2 separate regions of the Homo sapiens genome follow, and region 1 is linked to region 2. The links are contacts of gene promoters, found by promoter capture Hi-C in blood cells and fetal thymus (Javierre and others, 2016). All regions are on one chromosome and are shown on one strand. Each heading gives the region's core, a stretch centred on a gene start or on the middle of the fragment in contact. The rest is flanking DNA. Distances are from core to core; before and after follow the strand shown. Region 1 holds the start of LOC124903501 (a long non-coding RNA gene). Region 2 holds the start of RORA (RAR related orphan receptor A).

Region 1 (5,083 bases), core at 604-3,103, 600 kb after region 2:
GGAAGCTCCAGGAAGTCAGCGACCACATCTCAGTCATCACTGCAGCCCTGGCCCCAGCCAGGGCCTGGAACAGGAGGCATCTCCCCGTGTCATCTGACTCTGCAGGGAGGTGGGCACCAGCGCAGGCTGAGGGGACACTGTGGGGAGGGGACGCTGTGAGTGTCCTCACCTGGAGCTCCAATGGAGAACACTGAGAGTGAACCACAGGCAGCCAAGGCCAAGGCAAAGCTTTGAGCAGCACAAGGAAGCAGGAGGAGTCGTGGCCCTCTTGGCCCTGCCATGGGGCACTGCGGGAGTGCACTTCGGTTTGGAGGTGGTGGGGGTAGGGACACCCCTGAGGTATTTCCACCCACATTGCCTATGTTGCCCAACCAGCTAGATGGCCACCTCGCGGAAACTAAGGAAGCTGTGGTTTGTGTGAAGGGAAAGGTGTCAGGAAAGTGTGGCACCCCACAGGGACCCCAGTGTGGGGCAGCCGCTGGGCCCCACCGGGAATAGGAGACTGAGGAAGAAGGCCTGCAAGGTCAGAGCCCACTGATTTCAAAACCCAAGTGGACTTCATTCCTGAAAGGTAACGTCATGGCCCCGTGGTGAGGACGGATAATCTGTCCACACTGCCAGTTGCTCCTCACCTGAGGGGAGAGGCTCGGTGACAGGGGCAGGAAAGGGACGACTTGGGAGCTACTGGACAGAGCTGGCACTGGACTGAGCCCACGGAGCAGGCTGTCTGCACACACTACCAGGTCCCAGACACACCAGCTGCAGCCACTAACACTGGCAGAGCCCAGCAAGGGAGGCAGCAGCAGTGGTTTTCCTCCTTCCGTTACAGATTTCTCAATCAAGGCCCAGAGAGGTAAACTAATCTGCTCAGGGTGGCCTGGCTAACAAAGGAACAGAGAACGGTCTCAGGTTTCTTGCGCTGCTCCTCCTCTTCTCGGCATCACACTGCCTCTCCCAGGGTGGAGGCGTGGGCACTCGCCCTCACTCTCTCCATCTCTCTCCCAGCAGATGCTTACAGGGTGCCCCGTTGTGGAGGGCACAAGCTGGGCACTGCGAACAGAGCGCAGCCCCTGTCTGTGTGACCCACAAGGTCCACTGGCCCTGGGGTGGGGCACGGGGCAGCATCAATCCCTAGTGGTCTTGGCTTTCAGTCTTTCAGAGCCTCCCCTGGGGCACTGCCCCACCTCTGCCGAGAGTCCAGCGTTCACTCATCCTCCCCCAGGGAACTCGAGGCTTGGGGAGCTATTAATAAATACAGTTTCCCCTCCACACACCTTCATCAATCAAGCGGCAAGAACCTGGGGTAAGGCACAGCTCCAGGAAGCCCCAGCTACGATGAGCAGATAGTACCTGGGCAGGCCTCCTTTGCACCCCTAGGCACCAGCATGGACCTGTCTTAATCACCAGGCCCCGAAGAATGACACAGGCCTCCACAGCTCAGGGAGCTCCTACAAATGAGGGCTCAGGTCAGCTCTAAAGACAACTGCCCTATGCCCTAGAATCCTCTTGACAGAGGCACAGTCCTTCTGTGTCTCTGAAGGTCATGCCGTCCTTCAGGTATTGGATTGCAGTTTCTAAAAAGACCTAGGAGCTGTATCTCAGGTGAACAGTGCTCCCAGCCAGGCAGCCCGATCTGAGCCGGAGGCCACAGCCACGTCTCCCTCATCTTCGTAGACCCAGAGCCACAGGTTCACCTCTGAGCTTTGTCACCACCTACCCCTTCCCTGGTGGCCACAGTGACATGTCTCCCAGCTCTTCCCAGCTCCCTGAGCAGAAACAACTGTCCAGCTCATCTTTATTCCCTACAGTAACTGGTCTATGAGCACGTGATAGATATTTGTTAGAAGAGGATTATGGAACGCTTTGGTTGATAAAGAAAGAGGAATAATATATTCCTTGAGCTACATGTTTCTTGATTTCTTTCTGGGTGTACTGTGGAGAGCCCATTATGTTAGTTCATTTAGTTCTGACGACAATGTGTTGATGTGGGTAATACTATTATCCGTATTTTAGGAGGAGGAAGCTGAATAATAGGAAGAGCCTGGGCTGGGTTTCAAACCCAGCCTGCCTATCCTGGAGCCACATTCTCAGCCAAATGTAGAGCCCTGCTTTTCCCTATCAAAAAAGAATGGATTCCCAGGGATCTGTCTTTTTCTAAACATCAGCATGACTCTGTTTCATCTTAATTGCCTGGCACACAGTAGGTGATCTATAAATGTCTAGGAAAGATTAATAAATGAATGTCATCAATGTCGATGAAAAAGCAAATATTGAAGGAAGAAAAAATTTAAAGATGGGCACTCTGTTCTGAAGCATTATCAGCAATTTCATGGTGTGTGTTTTTTGTGTGTGTCTCATACGCAGACACTTGCAGGCACACACATACCACACAAGTCTATGATCTCAAGTTTGAGAAAGTGAATATTAATTACTTCTACAAAAAATATTACAGGCTTTTCTATCCCCCAAGATGTGCTTCAAAACTGTACCCATGTTGCAATTCAACCTTCCTTCTGCTAATCTCACTATGCCATTTAAACTTCTACTGTCTTTATACGGCGGCGCCAAGGGTTTAGGCAGAAGTGTAAGAGATGAGAGCCCAGAGCTTCTACATGGGCAACAGTGGGATCTATCCTGGATCCTACCCTTTCTACCTAACCCGGGAACTTGGTAAGGTCCTCAGTGTCTCTAACCATGGCTCACACACTCCTTCAGGTCTAGCTGTGTTGTCTTTGTGCGTGTGTGTGTGTGTGCCCGTGCAGCGCATGCACACCCAAGAAGGTCCAAACTATTCCCAAATTTAAATCTTTTCTCTCACCATAACCCTAAATACAGCATGCACATTAGAAACATATATCCAAATATGGGGTTCAATAATGAACCATTGCCTCATCAGACATTATTTCCTCCAAAATGTATACAAACACTTAAACCACTCCTTTTATTAAAAAAAAAAAAGAGCAAAAAAATGAGGACCAACAATCTATAAAAGGAAATTCAGATAGAGATGGGGGAAGTGGCAGTGGTTTTGCAGTTTCCAAAGGTGAGCCTCCAAGGGACAGAGCTCACTCAGCATCTGCCAGCTAATGAGGTCATCGTGATCATTTCTTTGCTTTAAGAGACAGGGTCTTGCGCTGTCACCCAGGCTGGAGTGCAGTGGCGCGAACTCGGCTCACTGCAGCCTCAGCCTCCTGTCCTTAAGTGATCCTCCTGCCTCAGCCTCCCAGAGTGCTAGTACTACAGGCGCATGCCACCATGCCTGGCCCTATGGGTGGATTTGACTTTGGCCACTCAATGCTCCTTGGAAAAGCCCCCTCTACTTCAGAATCCAGTATCCCCTTTCCTCACCACCTCCCAGCACTGACATTTAGAGTTTTCACAAACATGAAGTCCACACCACTCTAAACAAACTCTTGGATGCTCCATTTTGCTCACTTTGGCAGAAGCTGAGCTTTCTGTCCCGAGATTGAAAGAGGCACGAAGCTTAAGTCACTCCGCCACCCTGTGGCCAGCGAGAGAACTGCACGCTTCCCGCGGGACAGAGGCCGGGCTCTGGAACAATGAGCTCACAAGCCGCACACAATTTTTAAATCCATCATAGCACCTTTTAGGAGCACCTCTTCAAAGGCCCTACAGTAGTTCTTAACTGAACTGGAAATTGCCTGCTTTCCATACAATTGTACACAAGTGTTCTTCTGTTTAAAGGGACCGATTCATCTATTTCTGGGTGCTTTGTTCTCCAAAACAGTGTGGTTAGAAATCACCCCCAGGTTTATCCAGTTCATCCTCCTGCCTCAAGGAAGGACGCCCTTCAACCCATTCAGGGAACACACGTCGCTGCCGTTTTATGAAGAGTATCTGAAGGCAGCGTCACAATCTCCTAAAACGCACCCATGTGTTTGAAGGTCAGGGGCTCAGAAGGTTTTCTCTAAAGTCAAACCCAAATTCCTGCTGCTGCAAAGACCTGAGGAAGTACGAGCAACCCCTGCTGAATCTGATGTGAGTTCGAGTCCTAATTGCAGGACTTACTTGCTCTGAGCCTTTCTGTTCTGATCTGTGACGTGAGGGGCGAGGGTCATTCTTCCTGCCCCTGCCTTACGGTTGTAGGGGCATCCCGTGTGCAAAAGCACCCTGTAAGGCTTTTAAAGTGCGGTGGGAATGTGGCTCCGGGTTATTCTCATCGAATGTTCCACGGTGTCAGAAGACATTCACAGAGGGGCAGGTTGCACAAAACGAGGTCCTTAAACACAGAGCTAGGAGGAAACAGAATGGGGTAGGTGCCGGTTAGGTGGACCAGACATATCACACCCCCCTGCTCAACTTGGGGGTTACAGTGCACGCTGAGAGCGGGCCACCGACAAACCATGAACCAGTGACCTGCTCACTGGCATTTTGAGCCGACAGTAACCCCCCTCAGCCACAGAGTGCCAGTGCAGGAGTTACTCTGGCCAGGGCAGGGAGGCCCGGGGGCTCTGTGACACAGAGCTTGCCCCGATCACGGAAGCCATCTGTCCTGGATTTTCTGGAGTTCTGGTTTCAAATATTCCAGTCTATTGTTCCAGCAAAGACACAGGGCTTTGCAGGGTCTGACAGCTGGGGTTCAGGAAATATAGCCCCAGAACCCCATCCTCGCAGCACCCTTTTGAATGGAAGAGACATAAACGATCATAAATGAAAAACCCTCACTGCGGTCTCTGAAATCCCACTCCTGAAGTGAAGGGCTCTCACTGTGGCCACCCTGTCCAGGAAGTCGGGGGGTAGCCTGTTTCGGGGTTGGAGCTGGAATCCTCCCGAGTCTGTGATTGGCCAGGACTCTCTCCTGGGACCCCACACCGGAGCCCAAAGGGCAGGATCAGAAGGGAGAGGCTTCCTTGGAGCACGGGCACAGCTGGTGGCTGGGCGCCCTCTAGTGGAAGATCAGAAAAAGACAGCCTGGAGGGATGCAAAATGAAACTCACCAAGCAAGCCAAGTGAATTTTTCTCCTGAATTTTCTTTCCCCTGCTTCAGGATTGCCAGCAGACATCTGCTTCCACGTTGACTGGTAGGCAGGCTTCAGTGCCTCCTATGATCCAGTCTAGGGAA
Region 2 (4,811 bases), core at 2,085-4,584:
AAAACTGCTAACATTCCCAGCAGTTTTATGGACAGGGGAAGGTCGTCTTTCAGATTATAAAGTCACACACCTGATTTTGTAAGCTCAGGCAATAAAGGTACACAGTGCATCCACACTTGGATTCCCAAGAGGGAGGAATTCAACAGTAGCCTCAAGTCTACCTAGGTAATGTCTCATGAGGTCACTGCAATGTCATGAGAATTCAGACCACAATTTCTGTGGACTTCAAACACTGACTGGGTAGAAGCTAAACCTGCTACCCTTTGGAAAGTATCTCCCAAATCAGAAAGCTTCCCATTTCACCCAATGCCAAGAACTCCACTCCACCCTCCTGGAGGTTGAAAATGCTAATCATAAGGTGATGATGTTTGCTTTTCCTTTCTAGTTGTGTGCCTTTATGTTTTAAGTATTTAAAAGGCATAATCACCTAGTGTGTAGGTTAATTTCTTTCCGATATTGTAATTTATGCAACATTAATACTGGATGCCAGCTCCAATTTTCTTACTGCTTACACTCTGGGAGCCGGCTTGCATATTCTGCCAACTCCATTACATCATCTGAAAACCCAAACATTTCCCATTTTCAAATCACTCTCAACTACCAGGCATACTTACACATTCTCTCTTTTTCTCCCTAGCTCACACACATAAAGATTGGTACCCCTGAGGAGCAGATGCTACATCTGAGGTTAAAGTCTGCAAATGCACATAATTTCTGGAAGCTATTACTACTGCTGTGTTAGCTAAAGGATGCCTCCATCTCTGACCTTCCTTTTTCCATTCAGACTGTTATATAACCTAGTGCCTGCGTGCAGGATGTGAGTTGAGTGTTTGGGCCTTACCACCCCCCTCCCATTAAATCTTCCAGGAGGGACAGACAGGGGCTGGTTCAAAGAATGAGTTGGGGTGGGGGCAGAGGGTGGGGGGAAGGGGATATGGGTCAGCAGGTCAGCTGTGCAAGATGTATCCCACTCCTACTATGCCCCTCTCCCCTTTTTGCTGAGCCTAAGGGGGCTGGTGGCACTGAATGCTCCGGCGTTACATAATTTGCAAGAACAGCAAGTTACGGATTTGCTAGTCGGCTCTGCAGCCTGCCACCCTGATCGCTTGCAAGAACACCTTCTGGCAAGAATGACACCTGAAGATGTTAATAACACAGGGTGTGGGGGGGTCAAGAAGGAGAAAGGTGGCAGCACAAACCAAAAATTAGTGCAGCTTCCTAAATACTATGTCCCCCCCATTCCAAAAAAAAAAAAAAAGCCCCAGAAACACATGAAGGGGATTTTCTCCAGTGTTTCTGATTAACCCTGTTACATAACCCGCTCGCATTCCAAATCCACCGTCTCAGGGTCTAAATATACTCTTTGCAGCCAAAAGCTCCCCGCACACAAACTCACCGAGCTAGCGGCAGGTCCAGGCCCCCAGCCCTCATCCCCTTCCCTTTTGTCCCAGCCCTCGCCGCCCCCCTCCCGCTGAAACCGCGGTTCGCCGCGGTCACCCTTTGGAAATCGCCTTTAATTAAATGTTTTTCGCGTGTGTCATCCTGATGGCTTTTACTGTACTCGAATTCCGTGAATGGGAAAGCGCCTGGACAGGGGGTGTGGCTAAGGTGGGGGGGGGGATACTGTAAAACAGCCAGCACATGATCAGCCATATTCCTACCTCCAACTACAACATCGAGAGGAAGGGAGCAGTTCCTGGGGCCCCCATTCGCCTCTACCCAGCCCTCCCCAACCGCCGCCAGAAGCCGAGTGCAAGAGGAGGGGGCGCGCTGGGCCGGTACCCAAGCCGGGGCTGGAGAAATCCTCTCCGTCCCCAGCTCCAGGCGGCTCGCGCGAGCACGCTTCCTCCGGAGTGACAGGCGCGATTTATACATTATTTACAACAGTAATTAAAGCTGTAGCTTCCTCCTGTTCTTTGCAAACTCCAGGCGCATTCAAATAAATAATCCCCCACTCTCGAGAAAAACACACATCAGGTTCCAATACCTTCAAGAAAGAGTGAGCTTTCCTCAACAGCTCACTTTAGGAAAGGAGGGAGCAACTGAGTCCCCCCCATCCCCCCCAACACACGCAGACACAGACCAAACACCAAAATGAAGAGTAAAAATCGCCAGGGGAGGAGAAAACATTGCTTGCACTATCCAACCAGCATACAACTTGCACTGACCATCCCCAGGTTCCTGCAGAAATGCTTGGAACCTCCGAGAGGGAAGGATTCCCAGAGCAGAAATAAGTTTCGGTGCTTGCTTTTGTAGACGCTCCCTCCGGATGCGCGTGGAGCGCCCCACAGGACCGCCGCCCTCTGCGCGTTGGCGCGCACACGCCCCCCGCCAGCCTGGGCGCCGGGCTCCGAACCCCCGGTCTGCAAACTTGCGCATCTCCCCTCGCCGCGCCCGCCAGACAACTTGGCGAACAGCTCGCCCGCCCGCACCCCGCTTCCTTCGGCCCTTCCTTCAAATCCCAAACGCACCGCCGTGCTCCAAAGAAGGTGTCCACGTCGCCCCCAGACCCCGGAGCGCCCCCTCTCCACCCCCGGGACTTCCCAGGTCGCTCACTCCTCCCGCCCCCCGCCCAGATCTGAGAGGGACCGAAAACACACCCCCGACTCGGGCAGCCAGGGCCGAAACTGTCAAGAGGAGAAAAGGTAAAGCGGAAGGAGGGTGGCCATAAACAGATTTTTTTGCCCCTTCTTAAAAGGACACTGCCGCTTTAAAAGTTTCTTTCCCGGGCCCCCACTCCCCGCATCTCCGTATTTTGGGGGAGCGTATTTAATTGAGGCAACGCAGCTTTCCTCCAGTGTTTGCAGAAAAATCAAAGCCAGGGGGGTGAGCCCGCCGGCTGTCAACCTTCCCGCCGCCTCCCCCGCCCCACTCTGCTCCCGCAAGCCGAGAACGGGCTGCAAAAGTTTGCAACATTTCTGGGGGGCGGAGGGGGGAGGGGAGGGGGGTCCTCCGGGCTCGGGGCGCCGCCGCAGGCTCGCGCGCGGCCGCCGGACCCCGCGCCCCGGGCGCCCGCTCCCGGCCGCCCCCCGCTCCGCGCCCGGGCTCCCGCCGCCCCCTCCCCAGCCCCTCTCCAGCCTCCTACCTCTGCTGGTGCTGGAATAGCTCTGTCTGCGCACCGGGGCAGGCGGCTCGCTCTTGCGGGCGGATTCCTGGTTCAGCGGGGTCTCCCTGGAGCCGGCGGCCGCGTCCGCGCCGCTGCTGCCTGGCTCGCTGGCGGCGGGGTCGGGGGCTGCCGGAGCTGACTCCATGTTTTTTCCCAATGTAGAGATCGCTGGAGATGGCGAGCTCCGAGACTCCCTCTATCTTCTGTTTTCAGAGCAACTCTATGGTACCAAAAAAAAAAAAAAAAAAAAAAAAAAAAAAAAAAAAAAAAAAAGAAGGAGAAGGCGACCGGCGAAAGCAGGAGGGAAAAAGCAGGCGGCGGCGGGCGGGCAAGCAAAAGCGCGAGGGAGCGCGCGGAGTGTCTGGGTGGACGTGTGTGTGCGCCCGAAAGGGGACAAGAGGCGGGTCTGGCCACAGGCAGCGCTAGCGAGAGCTTCTCCAGCCGGCCCCCACACCCACATTCCCCACCCTCCAGACCCCAGACCGAGAGCCACAGACTGGCTGCCAATTTTGGGAGGTGGGGAAAAGAGGGGAGGAGGAGAACAGAGCCTCCCGCGCCCCAATCCTCCCCTCTCCCCAGCCCAGGGACAGAAATTAAAATCGGTGAGATGATTCCGTGCCTACTTCTGAGACTCTCTCGGGAACAGAACTCGTCCCCATCCGCTGCCAGCTTGGGTAGAGACAAATCCGATTGTCCACGTCCACGTTGGGAAATCGCAGGTAGCCCCCTGCCAGCCCTGCCGAGGGCTGAGGAGAAACTAAAAAGGAATTAGAACGGGGCTGACATCCCAAGGAAGGCGGAGGATGGGAGGACGTGGCACTTTTTACTTTGGGATGGGACGGCCAGTGGGTTTCCAATCTTGGTTAAAGACATCTGTGTCTAAAACAGATTTTGTGAATCTAGAAGCGCCATGGACAGTTTCTGGCATGGTTGAAAGAGGTCGCTTTCAGCTCCTTTGCTGTTTGTCCGCGAAGGATCCAGAAACCATTTGGCAGGGCATTTTCTACTGAAGAAAACTTTGGCCTGTTTGGTCGACAACTATCTAAGCTGGATAAAACATGCCACGCTGCATCTAGCTCAAGCGTGGCTGCTAATTGTCAATTCCCACTGGTACTTTTCCTATTAAATGTACAGTCTCATCCATAAAAGGTAGATATACTGGAGAGGCATTACTAATGCCCGGATAACATTCAGATAATTAACAGCTCCTAATAATTCGTATTATTATAGGCATCATTCTACACCCTCCTCCCATTGAAATACATTCATCCCCTAGTAGGTACCTAAAACTCCAGGAAAGCAGATAATTGCATCATCGTTACCTTGACTGCAAACTCCAAGATGAAGGAACAATACAAATTGAAAGAATGGAAAATACTCCAATGGTAGTAGCCTGATTTGTCTGCCTTCATACTCAATCTACCACTTTCTTTTGCCTGCGAAGACACTGTGGAAATACGCCCCACCTTCCTTTCAAAAGGATCCAAAATTTTGACAATAAATAATATTATTAGAGGCCAGAAGGTGGCATAAATATATGTGCTTCAGAACGTGGGGTAGGCGGAGGGAATTGGGGGACATTTTTCTTTTGCTAACTTCCTGGTTTGGAAAAATGCTTTAAAAAATAGTAAGTGCGGGAAACCCAGTTAGCTAATCCTTCAGAGGAACCGCCATATGCCAAATTTCACACATAGTTTCTGTTACT

What was found. Contacts are between HindIII fragments. The CHiCAGO score rates a contact against its expected background, and 5 or more counts as called.
Region 1: a contact is called between a fragment that was not itself captured here and the fragment with the promoter of RORA in region 2, in 6 of 17 cell types (M2 macrophages, M0 macrophages, endothelial precursors and 3 more). The highest score is 9.1, in M2 macrophages.

The regions. Positions count from the first base shown.
Region 1 is chr15:61,830,779-61,835,861 of GRCh38, forward strand. It overlaps LOC124903501 (a long non-coding RNA gene), which reads left to right and starts at 3,917. Exons shown (of 3, transcript XR_007064668.1): 1 at 3,917-3,999. RefSeq lists enhancers at 1-700, 701-1,565. The HindIII fragment of the contact is 3,255 bases long and covers 227-3,481 here.
Region 2 is chr15:61,225,968-61,230,778 of GRCh38, forward strand. It overlaps RORA (RAR related orphan receptor A), which reads right to left and starts at 3,335. Exons shown (of 11, transcript NM_134261.3): 1 at 3,086-3,335. The coding sequence starts at 3,251. The HindIII fragment of the contact is 13,095 bases long and covers 289-4,811 here.